Linked DNA regions of Homo sapiens: region 1 is linked to region 2. Evidence: promoter capture Hi-C in human tissues and cell types (Jung and others, 2019). All regions are on one chromosome and are shown on one strand. Each heading gives the region's core, a stretch centred on a gene start or on the middle of the fragment in contact. The rest is flanking DNA. Distances are from core to core; before and after follow the strand shown. Region 1 overlaps TNFRSF19 (TNF receptor superfamily member 19). Region 2 holds the start of TNFRSF19 (TNF receptor superfamily member 19).

What was found. Contacts are between HindIII fragments. The study calls those that stand out against the background at their distance.
Region 1: a fragment that was not itself captured here is called in contact with the fragment with the promoter of TNFRSF19 in region 2 in 2 of the 25 tissues and cell types used here (H1 embryonic stem cells and hippocampus).

What each region holds. Positions count from the first base shown.
Region 1 is chr13:23,636,920-23,643,005 of GRCh38, reverse strand. All of the region lies in intron 5 of TNFRSF19 (TNF receptor superfamily member 19), which reads right to left. Among named protein-coding and RNA genes, the nearest start is that of TNFRSF19, 70 kb to the right of the region's middle. RefSeq lists an enhancer at 3,323-3,824. The HindIII fragment of the contact is 4,953 bases long and covers 1,845-6,086 here.
Region 2 is chr13:23,567,941-23,573,708 of GRCh38, reverse strand. TNFRSF19 (TNF receptor superfamily member 19) reads right to left here and starts at 3,297. Exons shown (of 10, transcript NM_148957.4): 1 at 2,861-3,297. RefSeq lists enhancers at 4,862-5,373, 5,374-5,768. The HindIII fragment of the contact is 2,276 bases long and covers 3,051-5,326 here.

The sequences.
Region 1 (6,086 bases), core at 3,072-5,571, 68 kb before region 2:
AGCAGAAAAAGGCAGCACTGACTGTCTAGATAAATTAATATACGTATGAAAAGACTGCATTTGCAGAATCGATGTGGTAAATTTTCATGTGCCTGTGAACACACATTAAAGTTGGCTTACATGAACCTGATTTTAGTCAATGAGGAGTAAACTGGAAACACATCTACTCCAAAGACCTGACCTGATTTTATTGCTGGAGCTCTGGAGTAGGTATATACTAAAACTGAAAGCATTGTTTATTGATAAATGTAAGCACTCTGCTTCTGAGGGATCATAGTTTAAATTTCTAAAAGGATTTAGATAGAGCCTCCCTCCACTGGTCCATGTGTGATAACAAGCACATCAACAGGCCATCATCCCTCTTTCCTTCCCTCTTTCTTGGCTTTAAAACTTACTGGAAGATGCTGCATATTAATGGTTAACAGCTTTGCAGCCAACAGTCTGGGTTCTCCTCCTGGCTTTGCATGCACTAGCTGTGTAACCACCAGCAAATGACAGCCTCTTGCCTCAGTTTCCTTATTGGTAAAACCAAGAAATAACAATATGTATTTCACAGGATTTTTGTGAGACCTGAATGAAGTACTGCACATAAAGGGTTAGCGTGGAACCTGGCACACAGTAAACTGCCATAAGTGTTAGTCATGCTTTCTCCAATTATTGTTCAGAATCCAGACATTATAATGATTATGTCAGAATCTGGAGTGTCTCTTGACTGAAACCGCCTATACAGTGGAGAGGCCTTTGGAAACGTGACGGAATGAGTGACTTGCAACTAATTGTTGATGCATGTGTCCCCATAGCCCTCAAGTACTAAAGTTAAGAAGGAGAATTAATGATTAAAAACAAACCAAAATAATCTTTTCCAGAAGTTCAGATTTCTTTCTTATAAAAGACATAGACACTGTTATAGATAATCCTCAACTTATGATGGTTCAATCTAAGATTTGCTGACTTTACAATGGCGTGAAACCATTGCAATTTTGACATAGTGTATGATACAGTATTCAGTAAGTTACATGGGATATTCAACATTCTAATAAAATAGGCTTTATGTTAGATGACTTTGCCCAAGTGTAGGCTAATATAAGTGTACTGAGCACATTTAAAGCAGGCTAGGGTAAGCGATGCTGTTTGTTAGATTAGGCGTACTAACACTTTTGACATATATCTTCAATCTGCAACAAATTTATCTGGATGTTGCCCTATTGTAGGTCAAGCAGCATCTGTACATTTATCTAAGTATCTCAAAGGACTTCATCAAAATGATTTCTTCATTGGTAACATCAAGCAATGTTATATAACAATAAGCAACAATTAGCAAAATAATTAAGGAATATTGTGAATGAAATGGTAAAGCCATTACTAAGAAAATCCTGGCCAGGCACGGTGGCTCACGCCTGTAATCCCAGCACTTTGGGAGGCTGAGGCAGGTGGATCACTTGAGGTCAGGAGTTCAAGACCAGCCTGGCCAACATGGTGAAATCCCATCTCCGCTAAAAATACAAAAAATTAGCCAGATGTGGTGGCATATGCCTGTAACCCCAGCTACTTGGGAGGCTGCAGGAGAAACACTTGAACGTGGGAGGCAGAGGTTATAGTGAGCTGAGATTGTGCCACTGCAGTTTAGCCTGGGTGACAGAGCAAGACTCCATCCCTCACCAAAAAAGAAAATCCTTGATCTGCAAATAAGAAAACATTTAATTATTTGTCAATTACATAGACAGCTCTCAGAATACATAGCTGAGGTGCCTCCTGCCAAATTTTTAAAGAAGTCATCATGGTAAATGTTCTCACTCAAGGGATATGGAAAACAAGCCCAAGATCTGAATTTAGAAGATTTTTCTTAAATAGATCATTAGAGAATTCTGCACAGGCAAGACACAGCTGATAGTACCATAATTGAGTGTAATTTTTGTACAAAGATTCAAAAATCTTTCATGGAATCTTTTATTAAACGAACTAAAACAGTATGACTATTTCCTCCCTAGCTGCTTGGGCACTACGACCTGGGTTTGGACTTATTAACCATGTAGCAACAAGAAAATAACAGCATTAATGAACATTAAGAAACAATAACATCACATATTTAAAATACATGCAAGAAAAGAGGCACTGAAGGAAAGGAGTTTGATAGAAATGAACCTGAAGAAAAAAAGGCAGAGAAGAAACCTGTATTTCCTTGGACCTATGTTTTTAGTTCTACTATCAACATTCAAATGGTCTCCCTCACTTACTGCAAAATTATGGCAGGAAACAAAGGCTGGTGAGAGGAGCATATGAGAATTCTCTTTGTAGACAAGCCAATTTGATTTAATTCATTCAAAGAATGGATTGGTGAACATTCTCAGATGAACATCTTGGCATACAGTTTGCCAACATGGAAAGACAAAGGCCTACTTGAGAGGAGAAGGTGTGCAGGAGAAAGGTGGTTAGGAGAAAGAAGACGGGAGGCCACCTGGCCCAGCCTAGCATTTATAACCAGAAAGAGCAGCTCATCTGGTGCCTCCCCTCTCTGACTGTTTTAGTTTTAACTAGAGAGAACCACACTCTCACTCAAAGCTGGGTACAGGTTAGTCATCGAGGAAGGCTGTAGTAGCACTTACTTGGCGATAAGCTGGCAGCATGAAGTTACACAGAAATCTGGCAGTTTCTAATGATTCTCATCAACACAGCTAGCTACATTTTCTGACCTGTATTAGCATCCTGTTTGGTTACTAAAATTGATTTTTAAAAGTAAGCTAGAAGTCACCAAGTCTCTACTTGGTGTGTGGAGATACGGGACTGGTTCCCTGTCGAATCAAGACCATTATTTTCCATTGCGAACCTCCTCCAACTACACAAACAGCCTCCCACAGCATGTTTTATAACAGAGCCTCTCAGGTAGCCAAACCCCTTTCTCTTGCAGGTCAGCACCACCCAGAACGTCTCCGCTGCCTGGCTTGACAGCACTACAGTGTCTTAGTCAGGTGTCAATGCTGTCTAAAACTATAAAGTGAGTTGATGGTCCTTACTAACCTGAGTACAGAGTATTGCGCTCATGTCAGCAGAGTTTTGTTTTGTTCCTAAGCCAAAACCCCACAGTATCATCATTCATTCTGACTGCAACAATAAGTCCTTTGTATTTCAATTGCTAGAAAAATAAAGAACAATTTTAGCATATCCTTTCAAATCCAGCCATGTGCAGCGCTTGGAAATGGTCTTTCCAAATCCTCTGGGCTCTCTCCTCCTCTCCCTCCCTCCCACCACTGCCTCAGTTCTCACTGTCGCCCGCTCCCTCCAGGGCCGGGTCAGGGCACGCAGACCACTGCCCTGCTGGCCAAATCTTCCAGGGGGCCTGACTGGTTTGTGCCAGGTGGTACTGGCTGGGGAGCTACCTAGGGAAGAAGCACCAAGCATGAACTCCAAGAGCTGTAATCTTTCATAGTCTGCTCCTAACACTGGTGGGAGACTCCAGGGAAAGGGGAGGACAAATCCCCCTGGCATGTGGCTATAACTGTGCACAGCAGGGCTCCTGAGGGGAGGCAAAGGAAAGGAGCTATGTCATGAATTGGTGTCCCCAAGGACACCTGCTACGGGGGCTATATGAATTTAAATTTTTTTTAAATTATCTTTTGAGATGGAGCCTTGCTCTGTTGCCCAGGCTGGAGTGCAGTGGCATGATCTTGGCTCACTGCAACCTCTGCCTCCCGGGTTCAAATGATTCTCCTGTCTTAACCTCCTGAGTAGCTGGGATTACAGGCCCACACCACTATGTCTAGCTAATTTTTGTATTTTTAGTAGAGATAGGGTTTCATCATGTTGGCAAGGCTGGTCTCGAACTCCTGACCTCAAGTGATCCACCCTTCTCAGCCTCCCAAAGTGCTGGAATTACAGATGTAAGCCACCACACCTGGCCTTAAAATTTCCTTAAGTTTGACTTTGGTTTTTATTTATTAGTATAAAATGTGAATGTTTCTATCAAGAAAATAAAAATTAATTGTTGAGTTGAACTAAACAGCTCTTATTTCTTCTCAATAGGACAAAAATAAATTACTGATGGACAAGATAAAGACATGAAGAGTTTTCCACTCTATGATGTGCATGTGTATTAATTACACAACAGACCAGCAGAAATGTTGGCATGATGCAGCAATGAAACTCAAGGAAAACAGGACTGAAGGGCACCCGGCAGCCCAGGGACAGGAACCCGCAGCGTGATGGGAGGCTGAGGGAGCAAAGGAGTCAAGAGGATGGTTCAGAGGCACGGGGTGAGGGAGAGAAACTAAGGCAGTAAGAGGGATCCTGAAGCAAACCAGGGACCCAGGAACATCAGCAGAAGGGAGGAAGTCAGGGAGGAAGCTGCTACAGGGGCTGACGGCCACCGCAGCTGAGATCTGGTCAGTTCCTCAACCAAACTTGATTTCTGCTCTTTCCATCTTGCTTCCAGATCACTTGGTCTAGAGACCTGCTGCCCACCAGGATGGACTAGGCCAAATATGATCACGCCTGTCTTTGAGTAAAAGAAAAGAAGACCGAAAAAGCAATGACCATGGGGAGGGGCTGGCAAGGCAGGCAGGTGCACCCCAGGCCTCAGCGCCTGGCCCTAACTGCAGGGCTGACTGAAGGCACCCCATTATGCCGGAGCAACTCACTGCTTCAGGATCCTCTTTGGCACTTGCCGGATTGTAAGTACAGCTGTTTTGTATGTTAATTACCATAAATACCATCATTAACATTGAAAACAATTAAAAGCTGCACAATGGCAGCAGATTACCTACAGTGTTTCTCACAAACATGAGAGAGTAAAGGAACCTTCCCTACCCGCAAGGATGTTTTTCTTTTTAATAGTCTACGGACCCATAACGTCTTGCTGTGTTTATCTGACTGATGAAACAATGAAGCTTTTAAACTTCTGCACCGAGAAACAGAAAAGACACCATAAAAGAAACACATTATTATGGCCTTGAACATCTGTGCTGAGGGAGAGCAAGCTCAAAAATAGTGTGCTTCAACTGGCGCTGCCATCTGGGAATCCAACAGAGACCAGAAACTTGGGCCTCCGCCCTCCCAGTTCCACCACGGACTCTCCTTAACCCTTTGAGTGCCAGGCTCCATTTTGGGCTCCGGCCTCCAGCCCCTGTGAAAGAAAGCAGGGAGTGTCCATTTTCCCTTGCATTTGGAGAAGGCCACGTGGAGACAGGCAGGTGTTAGCCTGCGGACCCTGATCCTGTGAGGCTGCCTTCCCTGTCATCAGTGGATAACTCTTATTTACCTCACTGCACTATTTGAAGAAGTAATCTGTGAAATTATTCTCAGATGATGACACTCAAATTATTTCCACCCATTAACTTCCAACTAAGAAAAAAATGTATATCTGTGCACAGTTTGGTATGGTTGTTTGAGTCTAGACTGAAAAGAAAATCTGGATTTAGACAGTGCTTCCTGCTATCCTCTATGCCAGCAGAATTGATACCGGTATTAATTCACTTATAATTTTACATTTGACAGGACTTACGGCAAAGCACAAAACTCCAGGTTAGGTTAGAAAGAGAATGTTTTTCTTGAGACTTGGAACAGGAAGTCGATTCAGGACTCAGCCCCGGCATTACTGCCTCTTTTACAATCACTAGCATCTTCATTTTAAGAAACAGGGATGAAGAAAAGTTAAATAATTTGTCTGAAAATTAAGTGTTAGGACTCAAAATCAAGCCTTCTTCACAGCGAAGCCTACATGAGCTTCCATGAAAAACATCAAGTAGATGGGTTTGCATTAGTCTTGGGATATCAACTGAGATAGTTATGAGAAAATTAGTAATCAGAGAGAGCTTCCCCTGATTTTATTTTTCAGGCCTTCATCTGTGTCCCCCGGGCCTAAAATCATAGAAAACACTCATGATAATGTAAAAGCTTACGGCAGAATATAAAAGCTTAAGTTAACCTCTTTCAAATACGTGTTTCACTTGGGTTTAGGAAAAAAAACAACAACTCTAATTTTCCTTGACTATCTGAAGAGGCAAACAAAACATAGCAAATATTATAATATTATTAACACATAACTAGTAAATACATGATTTATTTAAATTAAATAAATTGAATTAAATAAACTA
Region 2 (5,768 bases), core at 2,048-4,547:
AACATGATATGAAACACATATCATATCATGTTTGAAATGCACATTGAGTTTGTCAACTGAAGTTTCACAGAATCCCACTGGGAATTTCCCTGGAGGAAAATTAACCTTTAATTATTAAACTGTTTTTGGATGCCACTGGCATCATCTAAGAAAATATCAATTCCTTCAAAACACACAAATATGTGTTGATATAATGCCAAACTCGTATGTACACACACACACAGAGGCAAACACACAAATACATATATAATTCCACATCACATTGATGCATTAAACTTTTTGTGAAAATTATTTTACGTGTTAAATTATGTTAAATTATGGGTAGCAGCTACTGTGTTTAGACAGCTTAGAAGTCCAGAAGTAGAAGGAACAGTTGGAAAATAATCAGACGAATCCAGCTGACTGACATATCTATCATGGAAACAAAAAAAAAATGCACTACAATAGGAAGTGGCTGTCTTTATTTTTCAAACTAATATTGTTCTTTGATGAGCTACAGAGTGCATTTGTTTAAGCAGTTGTTGGAAAGCAGACCCTGCATGGTAGACTGGAAAGAACATTGGACTAGAACTGGGAAAATCAGCCATGTGACCTTGTTAAGATAGGGACATTCGTTTTCTATAGCCTCAGTTTCCTCATCTGTAAAATGGCCATAAAAATTCCAATTCTGCTTATTTCATAAAGATGATGTGATCAACTCCCTCACTTCACACATGAGGAAACTCTCTTGAGGTCATATAGCTAATTGGTGACAGTATCAGGACTCAACATAAAAGTCTTTTGAAGACTTGGACTTTCTGTAGTAACAAAGCTGCCATTGAAGCAACAGATAGGAAAGTGCTTTGAAAAATGTCACATAAGGGTTTTGTTCAGTAGAAGTAATAGGACTATATCTGCCAAAGTCATTTTGTGGCAATTAATTAGGAAATGCCTTTTGAGACTGTACCTGTACCTTCAGATACAACCATCTTTATTTTAAAATCAAATACACTCTATTTCATTTCTCAACAATGACACTAGAAGTAAACAATTAACTGAATTAATTCAAACACTGAAGTGGATTTTCAAGGACTTGACTTGCCCAAGCTAGTTTTCTACAAAGCCTAAATTAATCAGATAATTGCTAATTCTCCCCTTTGTTTTGTGCTGAGGAGAGCCTGTATTTGTTAAAATGATCCTAGTAGCAGGATAAACAGTCATTTTAAAAATTTTAAAATCCAAATCTGAACTAAATGAGCAAGTTTCAGACACACTATTTCTTTAGGCACCATCTCCAGTCATTGTTTTAAAAGGCTAATTTTCTTTATCTGAATGTGAACATTAATACCACTTTTGTGATTAAAAGGAAGATTTTAAGCAAACAAATTAAAAAAAAATCAAACTAAACCGATATTGCAGGATATTGTGAACATGATTTGTTGTACTCTTAGAAAAAAAAAGCAAATGCCTCTCCTGGCATGACTAAAAACAGCAGTTAAATCTTTAAGATTAAGTTATTAATGACACACTTTAAAAATATAATCAGTTTAGCATGGCTTTAAATAACCTCCACTTAACAACTAGCAAAGTTTTAAAATTAAATAAACAATGCTAATTACCCTTCTAGTATCAAGAGGAAAGTGTAGAAAGTAATTTAATTAATTGGCTGTGAAAAATTAATTACTTATGAAATGAGACTCATTAGACCTTTCCTGTTTCATCAGAATTTCAGACTAAAGGATAACTGGTCTTATCACTTATGGTTTCTTTATGGTTCAGCTAGCATCAAATAGACTTGTGATAATAATTAAATATTTTGCCCAGATAAATTTAGGACTAGAACATTAAAAAAAAAAACATCGCGAACAAAGTAACAGTGTTACTTTTCCATTGTATTTAGTTTTTATATTTCACTGTAAAGATTTTACTGTGTGTGTGTGTGAGCGTGAGTGTGTGTGTATCATGAACTGACAAAAAAATAACAGTTAACTTTCAAATTCGGTACAGCAATATAATTTGGTTTTGTCATGTTGGGCATTAGCTAAAGTGAAAATGTGACTAAGATACTTTATGTAACATAATAACTGTTGATTACTCAGATAGTTTTCATAAACAGTTGGCAAATTTTGACTTAAAACAGCTGTCACTATAAATGTAAAGTAAATGTTAATTTAGGAATATTAACCTTGTGAATGTTTCTGTAAATAAGGCTTATGCTATTTCCAAAGGTTATAGAAAATCACTGGAGTATTTTTAGCCAAACTTAGTGCAACTTTATCCTCACTGTTTTTAAATTCTTCAGTTTTACACATAAAAGTCTTTAATCATACTTGATGGTTTTTCAGTGATTCCCTTGAGTGTACAAACTGCATAAGGAAGTGTATTTGATAGATTTACATCTTGGAAGTGAGAGAATAAATAAACTAAAGAAACAGTATTGCCAGAGATACATTTTACTCTTTTATATAAGAAAACAAAGAAAGCATTTTCAACAAGCAAAGTTGCACTGACTGTTTACTAAATAAGGTAACCTGTAAATACTTAGAGCAATTATAGCTCACAGATCTCAGGGGTTGAAGTACCAGTTGCATGCTAAAGTGAGCGCTGTTCTGTTTTGTCCTGTTTGTACAACTCATTTCCAAGTAAAATTTGTATGACAGACTGCAAACCCTCTTGTACAAACTACTAAAAATTACATCAAGTTCCATAGTTACTCTGATACACACATTCAGCATCATGTAGTATTCAGCTGTATAAATGCTTTCTAAAAAATTAATTAAAACCATTCTTTTCTCAGAACACATGCGAAAAATGCAGTGAAAGCTATAACAAAGCTTAAAACAGAGTACCTGCAACATGCTGAGCTCTTTGCAGTACTTACCCGTTCAGCAACTTAGTTTCTCCTGGCAGCACTTCTGTGCCAAATGCTTCTACCTTCCCAAAAATGTATGTCAGCACAAGCCCAGACGAAACTTCAAATCCAGGAAAATAAAATTAACCATGCAGATCAAAGGCAGACGAGCAGGGAGATGAAATGCCTGTAATCTGATCAGTGAATCAGTTGCTGAACATCAAAGGCAGGGCTGAGTTTATATATATGCATGGATATCAAAGAAAGTTCACTTTCAGCAGGTAGTTACCCTCCCACCTCCTAGTCCACAGACTCTTTTGTTAAACATGGATCACGTTGTTTTCCTCCTCTTTTTTGCAATGAGGCAATGCTGGTAGTTCTCCCATGCTTGGGCTGAGTGGCTGGATCTGTAGCTTTTTTGGTTCCCAAGCTGTGTTGTGGACTGTGTGTTGGAAGCTTTTCCTAGTGCCAGCGGGTTCTGCTTTATCCCTTTCATCTCGCTGAACTGCAGATCCCATGACATCATTCAGCGCCGTGGGACTGGTAGGAGAGCTATAATTCAGCCTGTGGGGGAGTATAGCTCAAGAGAAGCCAGAGTTTGGCTGATTTCTAATCATGTTAGACTATTGTGCCTCACACAGGACAGTTTCTGTTATCTGTCTGCCAGCTGGAAAGGACAGCAACTGCTGCTGGATGCTTCTTGGGTGATAAGATCCCTGATGGATGGACGTGCCAAATGACAGCATTTAATTGCCTCTTCGCTGATAAAAATCACAATTTCCTACAGAGACTGGGTGTCAAATATTCAGCATAGTTAAATAGCACTATGAGACCACTCTAAAAAACACCCAAGGACACTGCCAGATGGACCGATAACATTTTCACATTTTGATTCCAGTTTTCAAAGTGACAAGTCTTTAAGGATTTTAAGGAAACTGCCCTTTCTTTGAAACATACATTATTAGGATCTGATTACCAATCAAACCGGGTTGTGTTAAGTAGTTAAGCAGCAGATAACCAACAATTCATGAATAAACTGCCATCTTCCACTGGCTCACTTAAGACTTTGGGCGGAGACTTAATCTCAATCTTTGCCTTAGTTCGGGACTCTGGAAATTAGATTTTAAAGCAATATCTACTTCTTAGACATATTTCATTAATACTTGTTGAGCATTTTAAAATTCACAAAAGAAGAATTATGTAGAACAAAGCATTTGCCCTGTGATTATTCCAAAGCCATGTTATTTGCCTTTTAGGGCTGTTTCTTCCGAACTCATAGTTTGGACTTTCAACTCACTAAAAAATTACCACCTTAGCCTAATTCTTCGTATTTTAAAATTAAATATATTGCTCATTATTTAAAAATTTTAAGCTATTTTCCTTAACAATGTCAGATTCAATACAATATGATTATTTTATTTTGAGTATTTAGTAAAATAGAAGATAAGAAGAAGTTTCATCTTCCTTGAAATCCAGGATATGGTGCTTTTCTGATTTTCAGACAGTTCTTTCATGGAATGAAGACAATTTTTCTATTTTATAATGGAAACTCACTAACTTTTAGAAAGTAAGTTAAAAATATTTTTGCAAAACTTAGGGGATAGTAGAACTCAGTCTTTTTCAATGTAACTTCCCTCCTTAACTGGTTTTGTCTAATTTTTCCTGACGCGATATTTGAAAACGTTATTTATGAAGTGTTTATTTCCAGATTTCTATGATTCTTGAATAATTTTAATAGCAAAATATTTAGTTTGAACTGTTCATAAGTTCTGTATAACATTTAAATAGTCCTGTTGATTTTTCCATGTTTCTTGTATAATTTTTCTACTTATACATCATTTCTCAAAAATGCACAGGGCTCAAATAGTATTTGAACTGGCAGGTGTGATGCTTAAGGACTTCCTTAAAGCAGACCAGGAAAATTCCTGTGACATCTGGGCTTCACATACGTTTCCTGGGCATCTTGAACCCATGAATACAAAGAAAATATTTACAAAGACAAAATATTTACAAGAAGGCATGTGCCCATTTCTTTTCTGAGGTAGTCCAAACCTACCACCAGCATGGAATCCATATGCCAACAGCCTGCACTCAGGATTAAAGTTTCCCGATACACTGATATATTAAATCAGAGCAACTAGACACTCTGTAAGGCTCATTGGCTAAGCAAGTAGATTTTATGTCTTTATAGATTTCAACACCAGTAGAAATAGGTGAAGGACTGAATTCGGGTTCTTGTGTTCCACTGAAAAACATACAGGAGGCACTTGAAAGCAGGGACTTGAATGAAAACCAATCAAATGATCTTCAATTTATACAAATCTCCCCAAGCAAGCTTTGTAGTTCAAGATACATCCAACAATGCAATACCATCTCCAGTGGAAGAGTTTATTCACCAAGTCACTGGATATTATTTTGAATTGGTCCTCTTGTGGCCAAGAACTCCCCATATGTGAGATGAAAGGGGACTGAGGCTAGGGCCCCATCTGTCGCCTGGACCAGAGTGTGGCTAAAGGTCGGCCTGGCTGCAGGAGTGACCTCTTGACCTGCGGCTCATTTAGCACTGTGCCCAGCCAGCCGAGCCCCCTTCGTTGTGAGGTGTGGCCTGCACCATTGTTGTTTCTGAACAGCACCAGGAAGGGGAGCTACTACAAAGCTTTTCTCTTTCCCCTTCAAGAAGCTTAGATTAGTGTGATTAAATCAGTGTGATACAGTGGTGATAAGAGATCCAGCACTCCACTCGACATCATTGTCCGTTGTCATGACACCAAGTTACAGCATTTGATCAATGGTTCCTGTGCCATGTTGCAGTACACTTGGCTCATCTTAGTCTTTTTGTCAAGCTGCCTTTCAGCGACCTGGTTCTGCAAAGTGGTTGTGGCAGCCATTGGATCCACAGTGGGGAGCTCCAGGCTACACTTTAAAAGAAGTGGTCAGT